Regions from separate parts of the Homo sapiens genome. Here region 2 is linked to region 1. The links are contacts of gene promoters, found by promoter capture Hi-C in blood cells and fetal thymus (Javierre and others, 2016). All regions are on one chromosome and are shown on one strand. The core of a region is centred on a gene start or on the middle of the fragment in contact, and the rest is flanking DNA. Distances in the headings are between cores, read along the strand shown.

Region 1 (7,198 bases), core at 2,389-4,888:
GTATCATTTCAATTCTTACTTTAACTACACTGGCTGCACTCTAAAACTGCCTCCAGTTTTTATACCAAGTGCTAACAAGGATTTCAAATATTCGACAGTGATGCCATTCAGGTTCTCCACTAAGAACTCCTGAGATTCTAGGATTCTACGTAAATCGCTGGTCCTTCACCTTAGTAAGAGTTCTCTCAAAAAGCCTCATCCTAATTGAAGCAAGCCAGAGTGAATCCTAGCATCTAGTACTCAAAGCCAGGCTTAACCTCAGTGTGGAATTTCACAAAGCAGAGATTTGCAAAGGTCTGCTTTTCTTTTCATGAACATTCTATCGTGCTGGAGAAAATAACTTGAGTAGAAGGCACCAATCAGCTAAGTAAAACACATCTGTCACAAAGGGACAATTCCATGCTATATACATATGGTTTCCTTATCTGTACAATGAAGGTATTAAGTTACACAATCCTCCACAGAAATTGCCTTAGCCAGGGGTCCACGGGTACTTAAACTTAAGGGCTATGACACAAACATCACTGAAAAATACATGCTTAAGATTGCATGTATTTTTGTTTTGTGCTTTTTCCCTGGAAATAAGATCCACATTTTTCTATCATATTCTCCAAGAGTCAGTGACGCAAAAATGGCTAAGAACCACTGCTCTGAAGTCTTCTGTACCTCCAAGAGTCTATCCACGTATTTATGCTGGAAAGCACAGAAGTAATTAAGTCTAACTGTGCAACTGTGGGGGGAACCATTTAAAAATAAGTACTTACTAAAGTATTCATTTTTTGCCACAACATGTGGCAATCGAACAGGTCTGACAAAAGCAAACATTAAAAAAACATGTATGGATTGCTTTTCAGGGTCCAGAAAATTATGACCTCCTCGTCTTAAAACAAACATGTTCCAGGCTGGGTAAATACCACCACACCTTGTATGTTTAGAGAAATTTTCTTTTCCTTATTCACGTAAGGGGCCACAGGTCCTTAAGAACTGTGTCGATTTACCAAAATGATTTGGAGCTTATTAGGATTTTCAGCTTCTGATTTGCCAAAACAAAATTTATACCTACCCTGGCTTTAGCCATAGTTTTTTTAATATCTACCATCTGTTACAATTTTGTTTTAACTATTCCCACTGACTTAGAAGACTTCTGGCTTAATTTGTCAGTTTTAAGGACTGCCCTATTTTTTTCTAGTTGGCTTTCTTGATATTGTGCAGTATGTAGTAGAATAAAGAGATTTTTTGGGGTTTCTCATACTTTTAATTTTAAGCAAGTAACTTTTGAGTCAGCTACTCCAACTGTAAATTCAGTTTCTGGAGCCAAAATATGTTTTACCATAGTAACTGCCCTGCATGGCAGACTCACTACTTACACATACTTACATAAAAAGAGCAATTCCAGTATTAGCCATGGCATAAGAAAGCCCAAGGATTCCACTGCCCACAATCGCATTGCTCAGATTAAATACTGACATTCCAAAGGAAGTAGTACCTGGATGCTACATAGAGGGAAAACGATAACCAAACATATAACAATAATTAAATGGAGAAAACCAGCTTTGGGCAAGTTAGATTTGAATTCTAAAAGTAAAACTATTCTTTTACTCCATAAAGCCACTGACAGACAAATTACTATTTTTAACTTACAAATTCTGTTTCATACTTCTTCTTCCCCAAATTCGATTCAAGTAAAAAGTTCTGGTTTTCAGGATCTACATCTGCATAATGGCTGCAAAAAATATAGACATATATAATTGTAAACTGGATTGAAATATCTATCATTACACACAAGACTGCTTTAACATAAAATACCCTCCAACAGCATAGCTCTGATACAACATCTTTACTTAATGTATAAATATTAACTAGGAGTTGACTTTCACACCAGCTATCTTGTCATTACAACAAGATAATCGGATACTCTTTCAGAGATTACGCACCTTCTCTAAATGCTATAGCAAATTAAAGCAATGGAAGCAGAGTCCTAGGTAACTCCCTGAACCCAACCCATGCAAGCCGTTTTTTCAAAAGTGTCACAACTTCTCCCACCTTTTCAGAGCAGCTTGCTTGGTGGGGTAGGAGTAGTTGAAGTCGCTGTTGGAACTGTAGCTGCTGCTGTCTTCATCCGGGGAAATACTGAATCGTCCCATTTCGGCCTTCTTCATGCTAAGCACTGGGAGGAATCGGGTGCAGCTAGTAGCGCTGGGCTCCTTTTGTCCTTGGCGGTGGGTGCAGCGGCCCGCGAGTCGGCCTGCGAAAGTAGAGGCGGCGCGTCAGGACCGCAGCGCCAGCCCGCCGCGGTCACGTGACGCCGCCCGGAGGCGCAGCGCGGCTGATTCATCCCAGGCCAGGCGAGTGGAAAAGTACCAGCCGCGCGCGAGGGGCGGGGGCGCGCCGAGGGGCGGAAAAGTACAGACGGCGGAGCCGCGGGGAGAACAAAGATGATGCCACCGCTGTGTTGCGGCCGTCGAGGCCCCCTACTCCGGCAGATTTCAGTATTTCACCCTCTCTATTGTCCCTCGTCGGAGTGGAGGGGGCGAGGGGGGGTTCTGTTTTGCTTTTTCCCAGTCGCTCCAAACTTGCACAGGCACTCAGGGCACACATCCAGCCCCGACCCTGGCTCGTGTGCATGCAACCTAGGCGCACGGCTTTCCGTTTCTAGCATTTGGAACAGCAATGCTGCGTAATCTGTCCTTTACTGCCCGGAGTCCCCACACGGAGAAATGCCTCTGCCGCAGACAGCCTTCCCCAGGAGGCGGAAAGGGCCGACACTACTCCTCTCTCGAGGGGGGCGAACGCCCGGGCCCCGGGAGCTGGGGGTTTGTTTACACACGCGCGCCAGTGCCCTCAAGCACACCCGTCCACAGGCAGCTGGCCCGCGAGTGCTACGCCCGCCCAGCCCCTCCTATGTCCGGAAAGAAAACTGATGCAATATCGATCGTCGATTGTCAAATGTTCCCAACTCGTCTTCCCCAATCTTGGCCTCTCCTGTAATACATGCCCAAGCCCACCTCCGCCGCCCCCAGATTCCTGGCTCCCTGGACTTAATTTTTTTTTTTTATTAAATGCAAATCAGTCACAAGACTTGCCGCAGCAGAGCCGCTGGCCGGGCTAGCTCCCCTCCCCCTAATGGGAAGATGCGGCTCCGCACCGTGCAGGCACGCGGCCCCCGCCCAGCGCCCGCTCTCCTACCCACGTCGCGGGCGCGACACCCGCGCGGCGGGCCAGGGTGGAAGGCTGGCCAGCCCAACCGACAACGCCCGCCTCGAAAGGAAACGGACCCCGCGGCCGCCTTCCCGCGCGGCCCCTCCCGGAAGCCCCTCCCCCACTCTCGCCCGGGCCCCGCGCCCTTCCCACAGACGCCCCCCCGCACGCGTTACCTCGGTGGTCTCTATTCTCACGCAGACGTCTTCAGTGGGTTTCTCTCAGTCAAATACAAATCATAAAAAACAAACAAAAAATTTCCCCAAATCCAACAACAGGCAGGAAAAATAATTTTAATAAAAAAGGAAAAGACAAATTGCCGCCCCAATCCTCCGGCGTCCGCCGTGTCAAGGGAAAGGCGCGAGCGTGCGGTAACGCGTGGTCGGGCTGCTGCTAGCAGTACTGGAAAGGCGTTCTAAGGCGGCGGCGTCGCGCGGCTGTGGAGCAGCCCTGCGAGCGGCGGGTTATAGCGGCACCCCGGGGACGCGTCAGTGGGCGGGACCGCGGCCGCCCGGGCGCCTTCTCTTTGTGTATCAACACCACCTGGGCCCCGCCTCCGACCCGCCCAGACCTAGGCCCCGCCTCCCTGCCCCTCCCTCTGCGGCCCGCGCCCGCGGCCCAGCCCCGCCCGCAGGCGCCCCCAAGACTCTCCCGCAAAGCCCAAGCCCACTCTCTCCAGCTTTCTAGATAGTCTGGAAAGACCCCCAGATGCTTCCCCTGCCTATCCTTTTCAGCCAGGGTTGGTGCTCAACACATGCGGTTGTCTTTGAGGAGCCATCTCCTTAAAATTTTCTCCTGTCCGAGTCACCAGCAGTCCTTGCTTTCGGGGGACACATCAAGGCTTTTGGGGGACACCACCCTCCCACCAAACACTTTCTTGATTGTTATTTTTGTGATTTACAGTGAAGTTTTGTCTCACAAACTTGGGCCAAGGCAGCAAGGTTGTCCTGATGGTTTGTTGTTCTTTCTTTTCCACCTAGACCTGCTTTCACTCTTCAAAACTAGCCGGAGGTCGGCGAGCAGCTCCTTTTCGGGATGTGCTTTTTGTACGGCCATGGAAACTGGACTAGCGGAAAGGCTACCTTTTGGCCAGCAAGCCAGGCCCCTTAGAAAGAGGCCCCAGTGGGGAGCCCGGCGCTCCTAAGGCCGTTTGGGAGTCCCCAGTTTTCCACTCGCTGACACGTTGCTTCTCTTATCCCACCACCGCCGCCCCGGGCAAAGGCACTGCCTTGTCTGAATGCGGGTCTGAGGCGCTTTCTGCGGAGCCTGGTCCTTTCCCTTCAATGGTGATGTGTGTGGTCTTGCTGAGCCAGGCAACTAGGGGGACCCTTCGCTGTGGAAAAATTGGTGCTGCGGGAAAGGCAAGACTCACTCCCTTGCAGGAAACAAAGACCCCTTAGGAGAGAGAAATGTTCATGGAATGAATGAATAAACAAGTTTGACCTACTGCTCTCTTCCTTTTGGGGACTTGGGAGAAATTGGGCAGGGCATAGAGGAAAGGGCTGGGTGTGATCGCAGTTTTTGCTTTCAATGTTTTACTGAGGAAATCCGTACAACTGCCTATTTCCGCCGCACGTGAGGCTTCGGGTGCCCTCGCCTGCACCAGTGTTTATGATTGACAAGCGAGGTCCCGATTTCCCCCATCACACTCCTGTGTTCCCTACCCCAAACCTTCTACTCTGTTCAGGCCAGTCTTCCCTACCGCAAACCTTCTACTCTGTTCAGGCCAGTCTTAAATAATAGCCATTCTTGCTTTGGTGTCCAATCTCCTCTCATCCCCTTAAATGCCGCTGTCATGCAAGGCTTAGTCTTCGAGCCACAGGAAAGCGCCCCGCATGCCTTAATCCCTCCGTACTCAGCCCTCTTTTTGCAGGTACTATTTTCTAAAACAATATGGTGACGGACTTTTAAAAATCCGTGCTGTCATGCACTCAAAATCGTTCCAGACTATTTGTAGTATCATCTGCCCAAAGATTGTGAACTCCCCAAGGGCAGGTTTGGAATTTGACACACAATTAGGGCTGAAAAAACTATCTTCCTTCCACATACATTCCCCAATAAAATCAATCAACTCTTCTTGTCACAACAATCTTGGTAGTGGTAGGTTAGAGAGGAGTCCCAGGAAGTTTCTTTATATTAGGTTTCAACTGATAACAATCAAAAGGTCTTAAACCACTTTTTCATTCCAGATGAATCTCTGGTCGTTTCCTCTGCCCAGTTAGAGGTGCTAAGGAGGCCCTCAGGGTTGGTAGTTATGGGTGGCAAGTGGCACTATAAGTAAATCTCATGTCTTTTGGACTTTTTGGTGGTTTGTATTGCAACACATATTTAGGAGAAGCACAATACCTGTACAGCTGAGGGCAAAGTGGAGGGCAGGGGCGGGGGGGGGAGCTGCAATATTGATCTGGTCTCTGTATGATCAGAACTTGAACAGTAAATGACAAAAAAAGAAGGGTGGAGGGGTGAAACTTCCATGTTTTTATTGCCAGTTTGATTGGTCTTTTCGAGGGCCAAACTGAGGCATGCCTGCTAACTCCATCAGACTTCCAACTGAGGCCTGATGTGCTCTGAGCAATTGCTGTTATGCTTTGGGCTTGAATGCATTGGACACAGTGTCCTCATTCAATTTCTGGGAAACGATATTGCCAAATACCTATTGGTCAGTGCGCTATAATTTTGTTTGATTTCTAAGCTAATGTTCTAGAAGAGCAGCATTTTTTAAACTTTCAGAATGGGACCAAGTGGTGGATAGTGATGAATTCAGTGGATTAGTACTAGCTTTCTATTTTCTTCAATGCAGTAGAATAGAATAATTTTTTTTAAAAAATCAGTATGCCATATGTACTATTATTCTGTAAATCTTTTATCTTGATTATGTGTATATATATGTGTGTATATATGTATACATATGTATACATATATGTGATTATGTGTGTCTGTATATATATGTGTGTGTGTATTATGAGTTGTGATGTAAAACAGGGGTCCCCAACCCCTGGGCAGCAGACTGGTACCAGTCTGAAGCCTGTTAGGAACTGGGCTGCACAGCAGGAGGTGAGTGGCAGTTCAGCCAGCATTTGGCCTGATCAGTGGTGGCATTAGATTCTCATAGGGGCACGAACCCTATTGTGAACTGCACATGTGAGGGATCTAGGTTGCATACTTCTTATGAGAATCTAACTAATGCCTGACAATCTGAGGTAGGACAGTTTCATCCTGAAACCATCTCCCCCAATTTTTTTGTGGAAAAATTGTCTTCCACAAGACTGGTCCCTGGTGCCAAAAGGTTGGGGACTGCTGATGTAAAATGTATGTCTTGCTGTGGTTTGGGGGGGGGTCAAAGAATTTTGAAAGCTACTGAAATTGAATCTTATTTCCTATCCTAAGACAGAAAAACTGTCACAAAAATCAGTTATCAATTCTGGATTTTCAGGAATGCATTGTCAGGATAGATTGTTAGAACTATTTATTGAAGGTAGGTAGCTATGTTCTGTACAATTTTTTGACCATTATTTCCTGATAAAATAGAGTGGTTCTGTTTCCTGGAAGCTGTCATTGGTTGACATTTTCTACTTGTTGTTAAACAACTGGTTTTTAAGATGACCCTCAAAATTCTATTTATCCAGCACTACAATTTGCCAAAAGTGGGCTTACACATAAAATTTGCTTTTCTCTACCCTCCATTTCCAACTGTATAGTTTCATTCGCAGATTAGCTTCTATGGCTTTCTTTTATCTGTCCCAGCCCATATTTCCAATCTTATTTCCCATTATTCCTTGTGGTAGGCAGCTTCTAGGATAGGCCCCAATAAATCACCACCTGCTGGTATTCATACATATTTGTAATCCCCTCTCCTTGAATATGGGCTGGACCTAGTGATGCACTTCTATGTGGCAAAAGTGATGGCATGTCACTTCTGAGGCTAGGTTACAAAAAGACAGACTGGGCGTGGTGGCTCATGCCTGTAATCCCAGCAATTTGGGAGGCCGAAGAGGGTGGA
Region 2 (6,416 bases), core at 2,677-5,176, 1.3 Mb after region 1:
CGGGTGGTGGGTTGGGGGAGGGATAGCATTAGGAGAAATACCTAATGTAAATGATGAGTTGATGGGTGCAGCAAACCAACATGGCACATGTATACCTATGTATCAGATCTGCACGTTGTGCACATGTACCCTAGAACTTAAAGTATAATTAAAAAAAAAAAGTTTATTAATACAATAGTTGGTTTCCAATTCTCCTATTACAACATATTTAAATGGCAAGGAAAAAATGAAAGTGCTTTACTTACAGTTGATCCAGGATGCGGTGGATTATCAATGGGTTTTACCACATTTTGTCTTTGTGTGGAATCAAGAAAGACATCATCCCAGTGTCCTTTCTCAATTAATTCCTTGAAAATAAATTTATAACCCTAACTTTCAAAATATTTATTATACAACAAATAAATATATTTATGTTTCAGAAAATATGACCATGTTTGGGTGAAAAGAATACATTACCTTTTTAATTTTGGAGAGTTCAGTTACTGCTTGCTTATTTCCAGGTTCCAGAAGTAAAACAGTTTCAAAATCTAAAGCGAATTTTTTAAAAACATTACAACATAGTTAAAATGTGGAGTTTTCATATTCGCATGTATATTCATGATATATTCAGTTAGTAATCACATTTTTAGCTCAAGCAGTTTTACTCAGATTACTAGGAAACAGGTGAGCTATAGTAAGAACATTTACTGAACACTGTTGTAGTTGTTTTATATGAATGTTCACGTAACCCTCACTACAACCCCACTTTAAAGGTGATAAAACTGAGGCCCCTAGAGGTCATCTAACTTAGCAAAGTTCACCATGTAAACAAATGACAGAGTAACTCACTAAATGTAAAATATTAATAGAATAAGAGAATTACATACAACAAAGTATTACTCAGCCTTAAAAAGGAATGAAATTCTGATATATGCTCCAACATGGACATTATGCTAAGTTAAATAAGCAGAGGCAAAAGGACAAATACTGCATGATTCCACTTACATAGGATATCTAGAACAGTCAAATTCAGAGACAGAAAGTAGAATGGAGGTTACTAGGGCTGGGAGGAGAGGAGAATGGAGAGTTATTGTTTAATGTGTATAGAGTTTTAGAATGGGATGATGACAAAGTTCTGGTGATGGACAGTGGTGATGGCTGCACAATGTAAATGTATTTAATGCCACTGAGCTATATATTGAAAAATGGTTAAAATAATAAATTTAACGTTACATATTTTTTTTAACCACAATAAAAAAAACACTGCTGTAGCTAACAGGCTTATAGAGAAACTGCCAGATTTTAAATGCACATACCAGGAAAGAACAGAGGCTGAAAATCAATTATCTAAGTACTGATCTCAAGAAGCTAGAAAAACAGCAAATTAAACCAAAAGAAAGTTGAAGGAATAAAATAAAAAGCAGAAGGAAATTAAATAGAAAACACACACAGGAGAACCAAGTTGGTTCTCTGAAAAGACTAATTCAATGAATACCCTAAAAGAGAAGACCATAAAAACAAAGAAAAAAAATAGTATCAAGAATTAAAATGGTATCAGATCTCCATTATCCTCCATTCCCTACCTGCTGATAAAACCACAGCCCGAAGAGTTTTTTAAAAAAAAAAAATCAATCACTAACAGAAATTCTTCAGTTTGTAGGATGGCAGATAGGAAAAGATACAACTTGCTGAAACAAAGAAACTTCCTCTGCTTACTGGGATTCAAAAAAAAACAAAAAAACGAAACAAAAAAAAAAAAACAGGCTGAAATCATTTGGAACCAAGATGGCCAAGTGGAGTTTGCACAAAAACGAGTTTGCTGATGTCACAAACTGAATTTCCACCAAGTTCTACTAACTACCCCAAATTTGCACCTGCAATCCCATTAGTTAGCAAGAAGAGATAGCTACATATGCCCAAGAACTTTTCCCTTTCCTTCCACTAATTACCTGCTAATTCCAGTATCCACCTCCCTAAACCCTTTCTAATAAAATTACTGCCTTAAGGCCAGGACAAGGAGACAGATTTGGGTTTGATTCCTGTCTCTTTAGGAGTCAACTTTCAATATAAATAAAGCCTTTTCTCAAAAACCTGATGTCACAGTATTGGCTTCAAGCATATCACACAGTGAGTCCCTTTCGCTCAACAACACCGATTCCCTTCCTTTCCATTCTGGTCTTTTTATCGTTTTCCATTCTCATGTATAATTAAAATTTTTCATTAATATTGACTGGCAATTAGCCAGAATGTACTAAACAAAATTAGCCAGAATGCTACTAAACAAAAAGATAATCTGGTACATTGCGGAAGCTGCATTCCTCCAAATCTATTCGTGATCTAAACTGTGGAAAGAAAACATAATTCCCTAAGTTCAGTATCTTTGAACCATGGGTAAGCTACATGAATCTCTGCTTCTTTAACTTGGGCACTCATCAGGATGACTGAGTGCCAGCTGTTATAAAGTCTTACCTTGTTTTGCCTCATTTAGCTTTCCCAAAAATGTTCTTGCAGTTCCTCTTCTGGCAAAAGCTTTAGAATATGAGCCATCTAATAAAATGGCTTGTGTGCAGTCTTTTTCAGCTTCTTCATATCTATTGAACATGATAAAATTACTGACTGGAAAAAAGGCAGCTTATGGAAAAATGTCATATAAACTAAGTTTCTAATTTAAAAAGCTTGTATATAATTTCAATCACTAACTTCTAAATCTGTGTTTGAAGTGGAGAACTATTTTATAAATTTTTTATTCTCACCAAATCCTGGAATCATTTGGTGAGGAGGGAGAAGGTACCAGATTGAGGGAATGTTAGGAGAGTCTGCTGGAGCGATGAAATAATAATGCAAAAATATGACTAGGGCAGACAAAAGAATGCCACTGCTTCTCTGCCTACCTCTTCTCCAAGTCTCAATATGCACAGGTATTACATTAGAATTTTGACTGGCATTAGTTTTCTAATAAAACTTTATTAACATTTACCCACAGTAAACCTCCCATACTCATAGAAAAACAAAAAAATGAGAACTTGGTACGAATGTGATAGCATATCATCTAATACTTTGCATAAATTCTACTCAGCCATGCAACCAGCAATCAATTCAGACTTACAGACTTACTCATTACTGCTCTACAACAACAAGGTGCTTAAGAAGAGCTCAACCCCCTCCACCAAAAAAACCCAATAACAAAAAAACTTCAGACATTCCCATATATTAATAGGACATTAATGAATTATTGTTAATTTCTTAGGAGTGCTAATGGTTGTGGTTATGTATAAAATATCCTTTCTTTAGCAATAAACGTCATAATGTTTATGATTTGCTTTACAATAATTCGGGGGGAAAATGCTGAAACAAATATGACCAAAAAAAGTATGGCTTGTTAGAACTAGATGATGGACACATGGAGTTTATTATACTACTTTTGTATAAGTTTGAAAAGTTTCATAAGAATATTAAAAAAAAAAAAAACACTCCTGTAATTGCATTCTCCCCAAGGCCTAAATGGATGTCATCTTGCCCTCAAAACAAAATCTCATATGAAAAAAATCAGAATTTCGAATGAACTTAAACATCTCTGATTTATTTAACTCACTTTCCAGCAAGAGATAAAGAATATATCTGTGTTCATGCCCTTATCAATGTTATTTTCTACTTGCCTGATTATATCATTCAAGATACCTGCATGGCCCCCATACTTTTCAAGATAAAGTCCAATTCCTTTGGAGCGCAAAGTCAGGGGCCTGCCTGAGTATCTGGCCTTCTCTCTGCCACTGTCCCCTGCAATAACAGCCATAATACGAACCACTCACCCTTTCCAGGTTGAGGTACCATCAACCTGCCTACTCCCACGTCTTTGAACCTGCACTAGAACACTTGACCTGTTTCCTGTTTTTTCACCTCACTAACTCATACTACTCCTAAACAATTTCAAGATGCTTTCCAGGAATTCCCCTGCCTGGACTCAGTCTATGCCAGTATTCTTCCCACTCTGAACTCCTATAGCACGTGTCCTTCATAGCGCTATCTTAGCGTATTTTCACAAATATTGGTCTCCTTTTCTGTCACTCCCTGCAAATTTCGGGTTTCTTAAAAACAACTATACATTTAATATTTGTATACTTAATACCTTCCACAGTGCCTCACAGAACACCTGATACATTTTAGCACAATAAATATTTGCTGAATAAGTAAATCAAAAAATTTCCAACACCCAAATTCAAAGAAAATTTAGAATATAAATGTTTAGGAAATCATTTTAATTGTATATTTAATTGCATATTTAATTGCATGTTCTACTGTACAGCTGAAGAAAACCCAACAATTTTTCTAAAAGTCTGAAGTTGCCACAGAGGTAGACGATTATTCTTTGAAAATAGACTCACCTAAGTCCTTTAAAATTATTACACGTCTCCTGTGCACTCCATTTGTAAAGTGAATTTAGAAAAATCCAATCAACAAACATCTTTTAGGTGGTTGGAGAAAAAGACAAACTAATCAAAAATAGAATAAAAATGGTGAGTGCGAAAAACTATCATCTCTGCCTAGCTCCTTAGCCCTGATTCCTTCTGATTTTCAGTCAGGTCCACTTGCCCTAGGTCTACTCTGGCTCTAGTGTAAATGCCGCCCCTAATCACCATTAAGTGAACCACCCTCTACTAAATCAAGTCTTAGTCTGGTTCCAGTTCCAGCAACCAAGATTCTACCTTATTTTTGTGACCAACTCTCAACCCTGTTTCCCAAATCTAATATCTAATACTACTGGGTTATTTTCTTCTTATCCTATCTCTAAATCTATGCTTTACTCCCTCTAAGAATAGGACTCAGATTTGTTCTTGGTCAGTCCTCTTCAAGGACTACAATGTTGGCCCAAACTTCTGTCCTTATTTCTGATTATCTTCTTATTTCTTCAGCCTTTCTGAAGCTAACCATCTACCAGCCTACATTCCACAATTTGCCAGCTCACAGGCACTCCATTATTGTAACTCAAGGATGTCTTGCTCATCTCCCAATGCAAACTACTAATTTAGACTATCACCTCCAGAAAGCACATTCTCTAGGAATCCCGGTTGGCCTAACTAGGTGAATTTCTTCTTACTCCCTACTGCTACCCCGCACACTGGTAGGTAAGACTGACTATACTGCTGGTTCTAATTAGCTCTAATTTGACACAGTTTATAGAACCTCAAGCTATAGGATGGTTACCTAAACTAGGAGTAGTCTAAGCTTGAAATGTTGCTTTTTTATGTTCCTCACATAGTCCGTAATACATAACAACAGTCTCCATGTACAGAAAAAAATTCTGATATTAACTGTGAATCTAAAAGATACACTAGGAAAAGATACAAGTAAGAGTCATAAGTTCTTTTAATTTAAAATATACTCTGCTAACTTGGTATAATATATTCCACTAATACGATTATAAACTAAAGAAATAAAACTGATACAATAAATTAGATATCTTATAAATGCATATATAATCTCTCACCTGTAAGAAGGCATTACTCTTAGCATTAGTCAAACCAACGAACTCAGGCTTTACAATTTTTAAACCAATGCACAATTCTTCGATAGCAAAAATCAAAATTTTCATAAGTGAGCAAGAGATGCAATGATCTTCACTCTGACTAGTCAACAAAAGAATCTATCTCCAGTGATATCTATTACTTTAAATGAGGTTAAATATATAATCAGAATTTATTTCTATGACAGGAGCTCCTAACCTGAGATTGTCTGAGGGATGTGGAAACTTGTTTAGGAAAAAAACTGTATCACTGTTTTCACTAAACTTCAAATAAAATTTAGCTATCTTTCAAATACAAATGCAGACAATAGTATCTATCACTTTGTCACCAATAAAAATCAGATATTTTGGCCGGGCGCGGTGGCTCCTGCCTGTAATCCCAGCACTCTGGGAGGCCGAGACGGGCAGATCACCTGAGGTCAGGAGTTTGAGACCAGCCTGGCCAACATGGCAAAACCCCATCTCTACTAAAAATACAAAAATTAGCTAGGTGTCATGGCGCATGCCTGTAGACCCAGCAACTTGGGAGGTTGAGGCAGGAGAATTGCTTGAACCTGGGAGGTGGAGGTTGCAGTGAGCCAAAATTACACCACTGCACTCCAGCCTGGGTGACAGAGGGGGACTCTGTCTCAAAAAAAAAAAAAAAATCAGATATTTCCATATCACATTATAACGGTTACTGGTATCTCAAAATATTGCTTATGCTCACCACTATTCAGAATTACAGTAAAAATTTAACCTGTTGCTTATTTGCATGTGATTGCAGTGTCTGGTTTATAGATACTCTTGTGACAAGGCTGGCAACTGTTGGGCAACTCTGCCCTAGTAGTTATTCAGAAGACAAAGAGCTAAGGCATGTGTTATCACATTGGAAATCTAATCATCTACGTTGCTTCAGGTATTCCCTATCCACACT

The links. The method cuts DNA at HindIII sites, captures the fragments that hold promoters and counts their contacts. A CHiCAGO score of 5 or more calls a contact.
Region 2: a contact is called between a fragment that was not itself captured here and the fragment with the promoter of SLC38A2 in region 1, in 1 of 17 cell types (naive CD4 T cells). The highest score is 5.8, in naive CD4 T cells.

What each region holds. Positions count from the first base shown.
Region 1 is chr12:46,369,135-46,376,332 of GRCh38, forward strand. SLC38A2 (solute carrier family 38 member 2) reads right to left here and starts at 3,639. Exons shown (of 16, transcript NM_018976.5): 1 at 3,375-3,639; 2 at 2,044-2,245; 3 at 1,642-1,723; 4 at 1,378-1,493. The coding sequence starts at 2,159. It overlaps SLC38A2-AS1 (SLC38A2 antisense RNA 1), which reads left to right and starts at 3,649. Exons shown (of 2, transcript NR_187299.1): 1 at 3,649-3,728; 2 at 4,179-4,644. RefSeq lists enhancers at 2,569-2,718, 2,799-3,128, 2,818-3,521, 3,379-3,458, 4,139-4,198 and silencers at 3,149-3,348, 3,549-3,888. The HindIII fragment of the contact is 15,961 bases long and covers 1-7,198 here.
Region 2 is chr12:47,679,248-47,685,663 of GRCh38, forward strand. It overlaps RPAP3 (RNA polymerase II associated protein 3), which reads right to left. Exons shown (of 17, transcript NM_024604.3): 10 at 2,449-2,570; 11 at 457-527; 12 at 246-347. Among named protein-coding and RNA genes, the nearest start is that of RPAP3, 24 kb to the right of the region's middle. The HindIII fragment of the contact is 2,548 bases long and covers 2,653-5,200 here.